Regions from separate parts of the Homo sapiens genome. Here region 1 is linked to region 2. Evidence: promoter capture Hi-C in human tissues and cell types (Jung and others, 2019). All regions are on one chromosome and are shown on one strand. The core of a region is centred on a gene start or on the middle of the fragment in contact, and the rest is flanking DNA. Distances in the headings are between cores, read along the strand shown. Region 1 holds the start of RAB2B (RAB2B, member RAS oncogene family). Region 2 overlaps RBM23 (RNA binding motif protein 23).

Evidence for each region. The method cuts DNA at HindIII sites, captures the fragments that hold promoters and counts their contacts. A contact is called where the count stands out against the background at its distance.
Region 1: a contact is called between the fragment with the promoter of RAB2B here and a fragment that was not itself captured in region 2, in 1 of the 25 tissues and cell types used here (heart left ventricle).

The regions. Positions count from the first base shown.
Region 1 is chr14:21,475,497-21,479,435 of GRCh38, reverse strand. It overlaps RAB2B (RAB2B, member RAS oncogene family), which reads left to right and starts at 2,477. Exons shown (of 8, transcript NM_032846.4): 1 at 2,477-2,609; 2 at 2,837-2,908. The coding sequence starts at 2,564. It overlaps TOX4 (TOX high mobility group box family member 4), which reads right to left and starts at 2,241. Exons shown (of 9, transcript NM_014828.4): 1 at 2,152-2,241; 2 at 1,872-1,940. The coding sequence starts at 2,157. RefSeq lists enhancers at 2,291-2,360, 2,941-3,060. The HindIII fragment of the contact is 11,571 bases long and covers 1-3,939 here.
Region 2 is chr14:22,905,404-22,909,231 of GRCh38, reverse strand. RBM23 (RNA binding motif protein 23) reads left to right here. Exons shown (of 14, transcript NM_001077351.2): 4 at 852-899; 5 at 2,864-3,037; 6 at 3,573-3,626; 7 at 3,779-3,828. Among named protein-coding and RNA genes, the nearest start is that of RBM23, 12 kb to the left of the region's middle. The HindIII fragment of the contact is 8,113 bases long and covers 1-3,828 here.

The sequences.
Region 1 (3,939 bases), core at 1,228-3,727, 1.4 Mb after region 2:
CTCGTGATCCGCCCTCCTTGGCCTCCCAAAGTGCTGGGATTACAGGCATGAGCCACCGCACCCCGCCTCACCTGTTTTTTTAAAATTAATTATTATTATCTTTTATAGAGACAGAGTTTGATCACGTTGCCCAAGCTGGTCTAGAACTCTTGGGCTCATGCAATTCTCCTGCCTCAGCCTCCCAAACAGTTGGGATTACTGGCACGAGCTACTGTGCTGGGCCCAGATTTAGGTTTTATATCATTTCAAAGTTTGCTGCATACTAGATTCACACTTATCCTGCTTATGAGAATAATAAATAAAAGCAACAAAAAAGTTAAACTGGCACTGGGCACATTGGCTCATGCCTGTAATCCTAGCACTTTAGGAGGCTGAGGCGGGCAGATCACTTGAGGCCAGGAGTTAAAGAGCCTGGGTAACAGGGTGAAACCCCGTCTCTACAAAAATTCAAAAAAAAAAAAAAAATTAGCTGGGTGTGGTGGCGCACACCTGTATTCCCAGCTACTTGGGAGGTTGAGGCAGGAGAATCACTTGAGCCCAGGAGGTGGAGGCTGCAGTGAGCCAAGATCGTGCTACTGCACTCCAGCCTGGGCTACAGGGAGACTGTCTCAAAAAAAAAAAGAAAGAAAAAAAAAGTTAAACTAGCAACTGGCCCTTGTCAACCCCATTTTCATCCATGAAAACGTTAGGATTATAGGATAAGCCCATGCAACAGCCACTGACAATTCTTGGTAAAAAAAACTGATGCAAATGGTCCACACCACTTTTGAAAATAAATATAAAAGTCCTCAAAAAATGGCAGATGGTTCAAGACTTCAGTTTCTCAAAGACAGAAATTTTTGTCTGTTCCACCATTCTCTTTTGCCTCTCCCAAACAAGTGATACATATCTATATTATGACAATATTTCAACCAAACTTTTTTAACGAACACTTCAGGGTTTCATCATAACCTTTACTTCTACTTTAAAACAGCATAAGAAACTATAATTACAGCTGTTTGACAGCTGGGGAAACTGTGACATACAAAGATGAAGTAATGTGCCCAACGTCTGAGTCACTGGCAAATTGAAACACATGTCCTACTCAACTCTTTTATATTCTCTAGCAGCTATTTCCTTTCCTCCTGACATTAGCAAAACAAGCTGACACCATGTAGGTAAAGGTAACCACAAATTTTTTATCAAAGTAGGAAATTTAGGCCGGGCGCAATGGCTCAGGCCTGTAATCCCAGCACTCCGGGAGGCCGAGGTGGGTGGATCACCTGAGGTCAGGAGTTCGAAACCAGCCTGGCCAATATGGTGAAACTGCCATCTCTACTAAATATACAAAAATTAGCCGAGCGTGGTGGCGCACGCCTGTAATCCCAGCTACTCGGGAGGCTGAGGCAGGAGAATCGCTTGAACCCAGGAGACAGAGGTTGCAGTGAGCCGAGATCGCACCACTGCACTTCAACCTGGGCGATAAAGCGAGACTCTGTCTCAAAACAAAAGAAAACCAATAAGCTCCTCCCCTCAACCCCAATTTCTTCAGCTGCTGAAACATTTTCTTTCCACTGCGATCCCCTAAGATTACTGTAGCTATTTCTCCCCAGAGAAAGGAGACAATTCCACTCTGTCTTCTAATCCAGAATCCCTTTTCTCTTTAAACAGGTTATCTCTTTCCAATACCTTGCTTTCTGATGACAGCAACTTCCCAAGACTTCCCCAGATAGTCCCCACAGGCTCTAGAAGCAACCGCCACTTTTCTCTAAACACCAATTGCGGCCCTTGGTTCCCAGCCCCCGTCCCCGGAGTCCGTGCTCTCCTCCCCACTACCCTACCCCACCGCTGCCTCAGGCCCTACCCCCGCGGCGTCGGCAGCTCTGGCTCACCTCGGCCCCTGACAGGAAGGGGTGCGAAGGCCCTGTGATCGTCAGGTAATTGTCATTTCCTCCGGGAAACTGGAAACCAAAAGAAAGTCGCGGGGATAAGTTAGGGGGAGCAGGGAGTCAGCTTGGAGCGATGGCTTTTGACCCTGACATTCTGACAACACTCCCCAAACCCCGCTCTCTCTCCTCTCCCGTCAGTCGCCTCTCCGCCCGGCTTCCCGTCCCTGCTTCAACCCGGTCGGCCGCGTTCTCTCGCCAGCCTTCTTAGCTATCAGGTTCCTACCTCCATCTTCACACAACCGCTCCCACCGTCTCAGACCCTCATCGCTCCCACCGCCCCCACTGGACTCGGAACTGCCGTCACTTCCGCAAGGACGTGTGTTCTCTCTGCTGATTGGAAGGAGCGCCGTGGGGCTGCAGAGAGTCAGGCGCTGGGCTATCGCCCCCTGGAGTTTGGAGGGATAAGGGCATGTAGAAGTGCTAGAAGCGTCCCTGGAGGTGGCGTAGGGTACTCCCGACCTAAGGATGATTCCGGGGAGTGCAATAGAGACGTGATCTGGGCTAGAGGAGCCGGAGGGGCGGGGGAGCGGGGGGAAGGGGGAGAAGAAGAAGATCGGTAGATTGAGTGGCTAGAGAGGTCGGAGGTAAGTGGCTATAGAAGTCGGGCGGACCCGGAACCCAGAGGACGCGACACCATGACTTATGCTTATCTCTTCAAGTATATCATCATCGGAGACACAGGTAACCCTCAGGTGGTTCGCCTTCAAGGCTCGGGCGGGCATTCGAAGCTCCCAAATTGGGTGGCGGGGGCGGGGCTCACTTTGTGGGCTGGGCGATTCGAGACGGGCGGGGCGGTTCGGGGCGGCCGGGGGCGGGGCTCGGGAGCCCCCCTTCTCTGGTCCGGGAAGTCCATACTCTGGAAGGTGTTCCAGGGCTGCGTGATTCCGGGAGTGTGCTTTCTCTTTCAGGTGTGGGGAAGTCATGTCTCCTCCTGCAGTTTACAGATAAGCGGTTCCAGCCTGTCCACGACCTCACAATAGGTAAGTGCATCTACTTGTTCCAGAACAGATGATAAAACCTGACTAGCTAAATTGCTAAAGTGGAAAGTTAGCAGCCTTCAGTGTTCGAAGTAAAAAGTTACCCCTCACTACTTTAAACTAGTCCAAACTTATGTTAATGAAGTGACCAATGAAACGTTGATATGTGGGGAGTAGTGTAAGGGAGAGTATATAATTGAAAGGTAACTTTTTAGAGTGTGAGGTATAGACTCGTCATATAATTTTTTTTCAAATACAATTTGTATGTTTATGGAAAATCCCACGAAAGCATAACTGCTTATTTATGAACTCATCTGTGCTTTGAGGTAAATTAATACCAGCCTTACTTTTAAAAAGTAAACACCAATACATGGACATTTTTTATATTGGTGAAGAAGCAAATTGAGGAGTCATCCCTGCCTTAGAATTAATAGGCAAATAAAACTAAAAACTTTCCTTTTAAATGAAAGAGTGTGTTAACAGTTCCTCAAACGCACTGGCGATCCTGGAAAATATTAACCTTTCCCACACGTTTGTGATAAGGCATGGCCTGAAGAGGCTTTTAACTACCCCCTCTTCGTTATCTCCGTAACCCCAGTCCAAATAAACAACATATATGAAACTAGCTTTCTTGCCATGCAAATGCAGTTTCTAAATAAACCCCTACATCCCCATTCTTACCATATTGCTACTTCCAAGTCCCACCTGTATGGAAACCTGAAGCTACCACTGTTCCTAACGGATTTATTTAGAGTCAAATAATTGATGGGGTTAGAAAAGGATTTGGCAGTATCAACTAAAAGGTATTTTAAAGGGAATATTGAGCGAATTCTCACTTTGCGATAGGGGCTAATGATACAATGCTTAACAAGGCAACAATGCTTAATTGTGCCTCTGGCAATTATTGGAAATGTAAAATGTATTGTTAAAAAAATTAGGTGGGCGTTGTGGCGTGTGCCTGTAAGGTACTTACTTGGGAGGCTGAGGCAGGAGAATCACTTGAACTCAGGAGGTGGAGGCTGCAGTGAGCTGAG
Region 2 (3,828 bases), core at 218-2,717:
GTGGCTCACACCTGTAATCCCAGCACTTTGGGAGGCCGAGGTGGGTGGATCACCTGAGGTCAGGAGTTCGAGACCAGATTGACCAACATGGTGAAACCCCGTCTCTACTAAAAATACAAAAATTAGCTGGGCGCGGTGGCAGGCTCCTGTAATCCCAGCTACTCAGGAGGCTGAGGCAGGAGAATTGCTTGAACATGGGAGGCAGAGGTTGTAGTGAGCCGAGGTCGCACCATCGCACTCCAGCCTGGGAAACAGAGTGAGACTCTGTCTCAAAAAAAAAAAAAATAGCAAGAGGACCCCTGATTTGGAAACACCAGGTTTTGCTTCGCATTAGGGGGAAAAATGGCCTCTTCAGATGCCTGACAGCTTTCAGGGCTGTAAGTTGGTATTGTGCAATTGCTGTGAACCACTGCTGGATCATCTTCGGGTCTTTGGTTTTTTCATGCTTTCTGTTTCATTCTGGCCTTACTGTAATTCCTTTTCTTTGGCAGCAATAACGAAACCTTCTCTTTAAGAATTTACACTCCTGACCTGGCGCGGTGCTCACGCGGGGCTCATGCATGTAATCCCAGCACTTTGGGAGGCTGAGGCAGGTGGATCACTTGAGGCCAGGGGTTCAAGATGAACCTGGCCAACATAGCGAAACCTTGTCTCTACTAAAAATATAAAAAATTAGCTGGGCATGATGGTACATGCCTGTAATCCCAGCTACTCAGGAGGCTAAGGCATGAGGATCGCTTGAACCTGGAAGGCGGAGGTTGCAGTGAGCCAAGATTGCACCACTGCACGACAGAGCGAGATTCTTTCTCAAAATTAAAAAAAAAAAAAGAAGAATGTACTCTCTTTCACAGGAAGAAGAGGAGTCGGAGCCATAATAAAAGCAGGGATAGAAAGCGCAGGTCAGTAATTCTGGGCCAGGCACAGTGGCTCGTATCTTTAATCCTAGCACTTTGGAAGCCAAGGCGGGAGGATCACTTCAGGCCAGGAGTTCAAAACCAGCCTGGGCAACATAGCAAAATCCTGTCTCTACAAAAAATTTAAAAATTACCCAGGTGTAGTAGTACATGTTTGTACTCCCAGCTACTTGGGAGGCTAAGGCTGGAGGATTGCTTGGGCCCAGGAGTTCGAGGTTGCAGTGAGCCGAGATTGCAGCACTAAACTCCTGCCTGGGCAACAGATGGAGAACCTGTCTCAAAAAAAATAAAAATAAAAATAAAAAATTGAAACATTTAGCTTAAAACACAAACACATTGTACAACTCTACAAGTTTTCTTTATGTCCTTATTCTATAAGCTTTTTTCTATTTTTAAATTTTTTTGTCTTTTACTTTTTAAACATTATTGTTATTGTTGAAAACTACGACACAAAGACACATGAGCCTAGGCCTGCAGAGGGTCTTTCACCTCCACATCTTGTCCCACTGGAAGGTCTTCAAGGGCATTAATACACATAGAGTTGTACTCTGCTGTAACAGTGCTTTCTTTAGGAGCACCTTCTGAAGGACCAGCCTAAGGCTGTTTTATAGTTAACCGAAGTAGAAGTAATATATTCTAGAATGATAAATATAGTAAATACATGAATCAGTGACATCATTACTTTTTATCGTGAAGTATATACTGTACGTAATTGTTTTATTTTTAAACAATTTTTAATTGATACATATTGTATGTAGTTTCTGGTATGTGTGAAATTTAATACATATAATTTGTAAAGATCAAATCAGTGTACTTGAGTTATCCTTGACCTAAATGTTTATCTTTTCATGATGCTAGGAAACATTCAAATTATTCTCTACTAGCTATTTTGAAATGTATAATAGATTATTGTACACTGTAGTAATAACCCTACTGATTTGTTGAACACTGGGTCTTATTTTTTCTTTTTTTTTTGAGACCGAGTTTCGCTTTTGTTGCCCAGGCTGGAATGCAATGGCGTGATCTTGGCTCACCGCAACCTCTGCCTCCCAGGTTCAAGTGATTCTCCTGCCTCAGCCTCCTGAATAGCTGGGATTACAGGCGTGTGCCACCATGCCTGGCTAATTTTTTTGGTTTGTTTTTTGAGACAGAGTCTCACTCTGTTGCCCAGGATGGAGTGCAGTGGCGCGACGTCGGCTCACTGCAACCTCCGCCTCCCAGGTTTAAGAAGTTCTCCTGCCTCAGCCTCCTGAGTAGCTGGGATTACAGTTGCGCACCACCACACCTGGCTAATTTTTGTATTTCTGGTAGAGATGGGGTTTCACCATGTTGGCCAGACTGGTCTGGAATTCCTGATCTCAAGTGATCCACCCATTTTGGTCTCCCAAAGTGCTGGGATTACAGGCGTGAGCCACCGTGCCTGGTCTAATTTTGTGTTTTTAGTAGAGACGGAGTTTCTCCATGTTGGTCAGGCTGGTCTCGAACTCTCGACCTCAGGTGATCTGCCCGCCTTGGCCTCCCAAAGTGCTGGGATTACAGGCGTGAGCCACCGCGCCCAGCCCTGGGTCTTATTTTTTCTATTAAATGACATATTTGTATCCATTCATCTACTTCTGTTCATTCCACCCACAGCCGCCATCCTTCCATCCTTCCATCCTTCCCAGCCTCTAGTAAACACTAGTCTTTCTATCTTCATGAGATTCACTTTGTACATAATTGGATGTGCTGTATTTTTATACAACTGGGAGTGCAGTAGGTAATAGTTTGGTTTACACCAGTATCACCACAAACACATAAGTAATACATTACGACATTACAGTGGCTGTAACATCACTAGGTTATACGAACTTCTCAGCACCGTTATAATCTTATGGGACCACTGTTGTATATGCACTTGGTTGTTGGCCTAAACATGATGTGGGCATGACTGTAGTTGTTTCCCTCTGTAGTCGTAGTCGAGATCGGGATCGGTATAGACGGAGAAATAGTCGGAGCCGAAGTCCAGGTCGGCAGTGTCGTCACCGTAGCCGTAGCTGGGATCGTCGACATGGTAGTGAGTCGCGAAGTCGGGACCATCGTCGTGAGGATCGTGTGCATTACAGGAGTCCTCCACTTGCCACTGGGTATCACTTTTTGCTAATAGATTCACTTTTGTATAATAATCTGGATAAAACAACAAATGCACTATGAACCCTGCTTGAGGGTGCTTATTATAACACATTGTGATTGGCAGGATACTCAGGCACAGAAAGGGTTGGTATTCAAAATTTACTGGTGTGGTGGCTCATGCCTGTAATCCCAGCACTTTGGGAGACTGAGGCCAGAAGATCACTTGGGCTCAGGAATTCAAGACCAGCCAGGACAACATGGCGAAACCCTGGTTCTACAAAAAATGCAAAAATGAGCTAGATATGGTCATGTGTGTCTGTAATCCTAGCCACACAAGGAGGCTGAGGTGGGAGGATTGCTTGAGCCTGGGAGGCAAAGGTTGCAGTGACCCGAGATGGCGCCACTGCACTCCAGCCTGGGTGACAGCGGAAACCCTGTCTTAAAAAAACAATGAGATGAAGTACTGGAATCTGGTTTTCTCACCATGGAAGACCCAGCATTGGACCAATGAGAATAAGGTTTCACCTTTTGTTTTTCTCTATTCTTTAGTTATAGGTATGGACACAGTAAGAGTCCTCATTTCAGAGAGAAGAGCCCAGTCAGGTGGGTTGATAATGAACACTGTTTTAGGGATTGTGAGGTATGAATAAAAGGTTATTTGAGCCAAATTACAGGAATGTGTAATACTTGAGGGTTAGCTGGAGAACAATGACCAGGTATTGGGAGGGCTGGTCTCAACACATTTCACTCTTCAGGGAGCCAGTTGATAATCTGAGTCCTGAGGAGCGTGATGCCCGCACAGTTT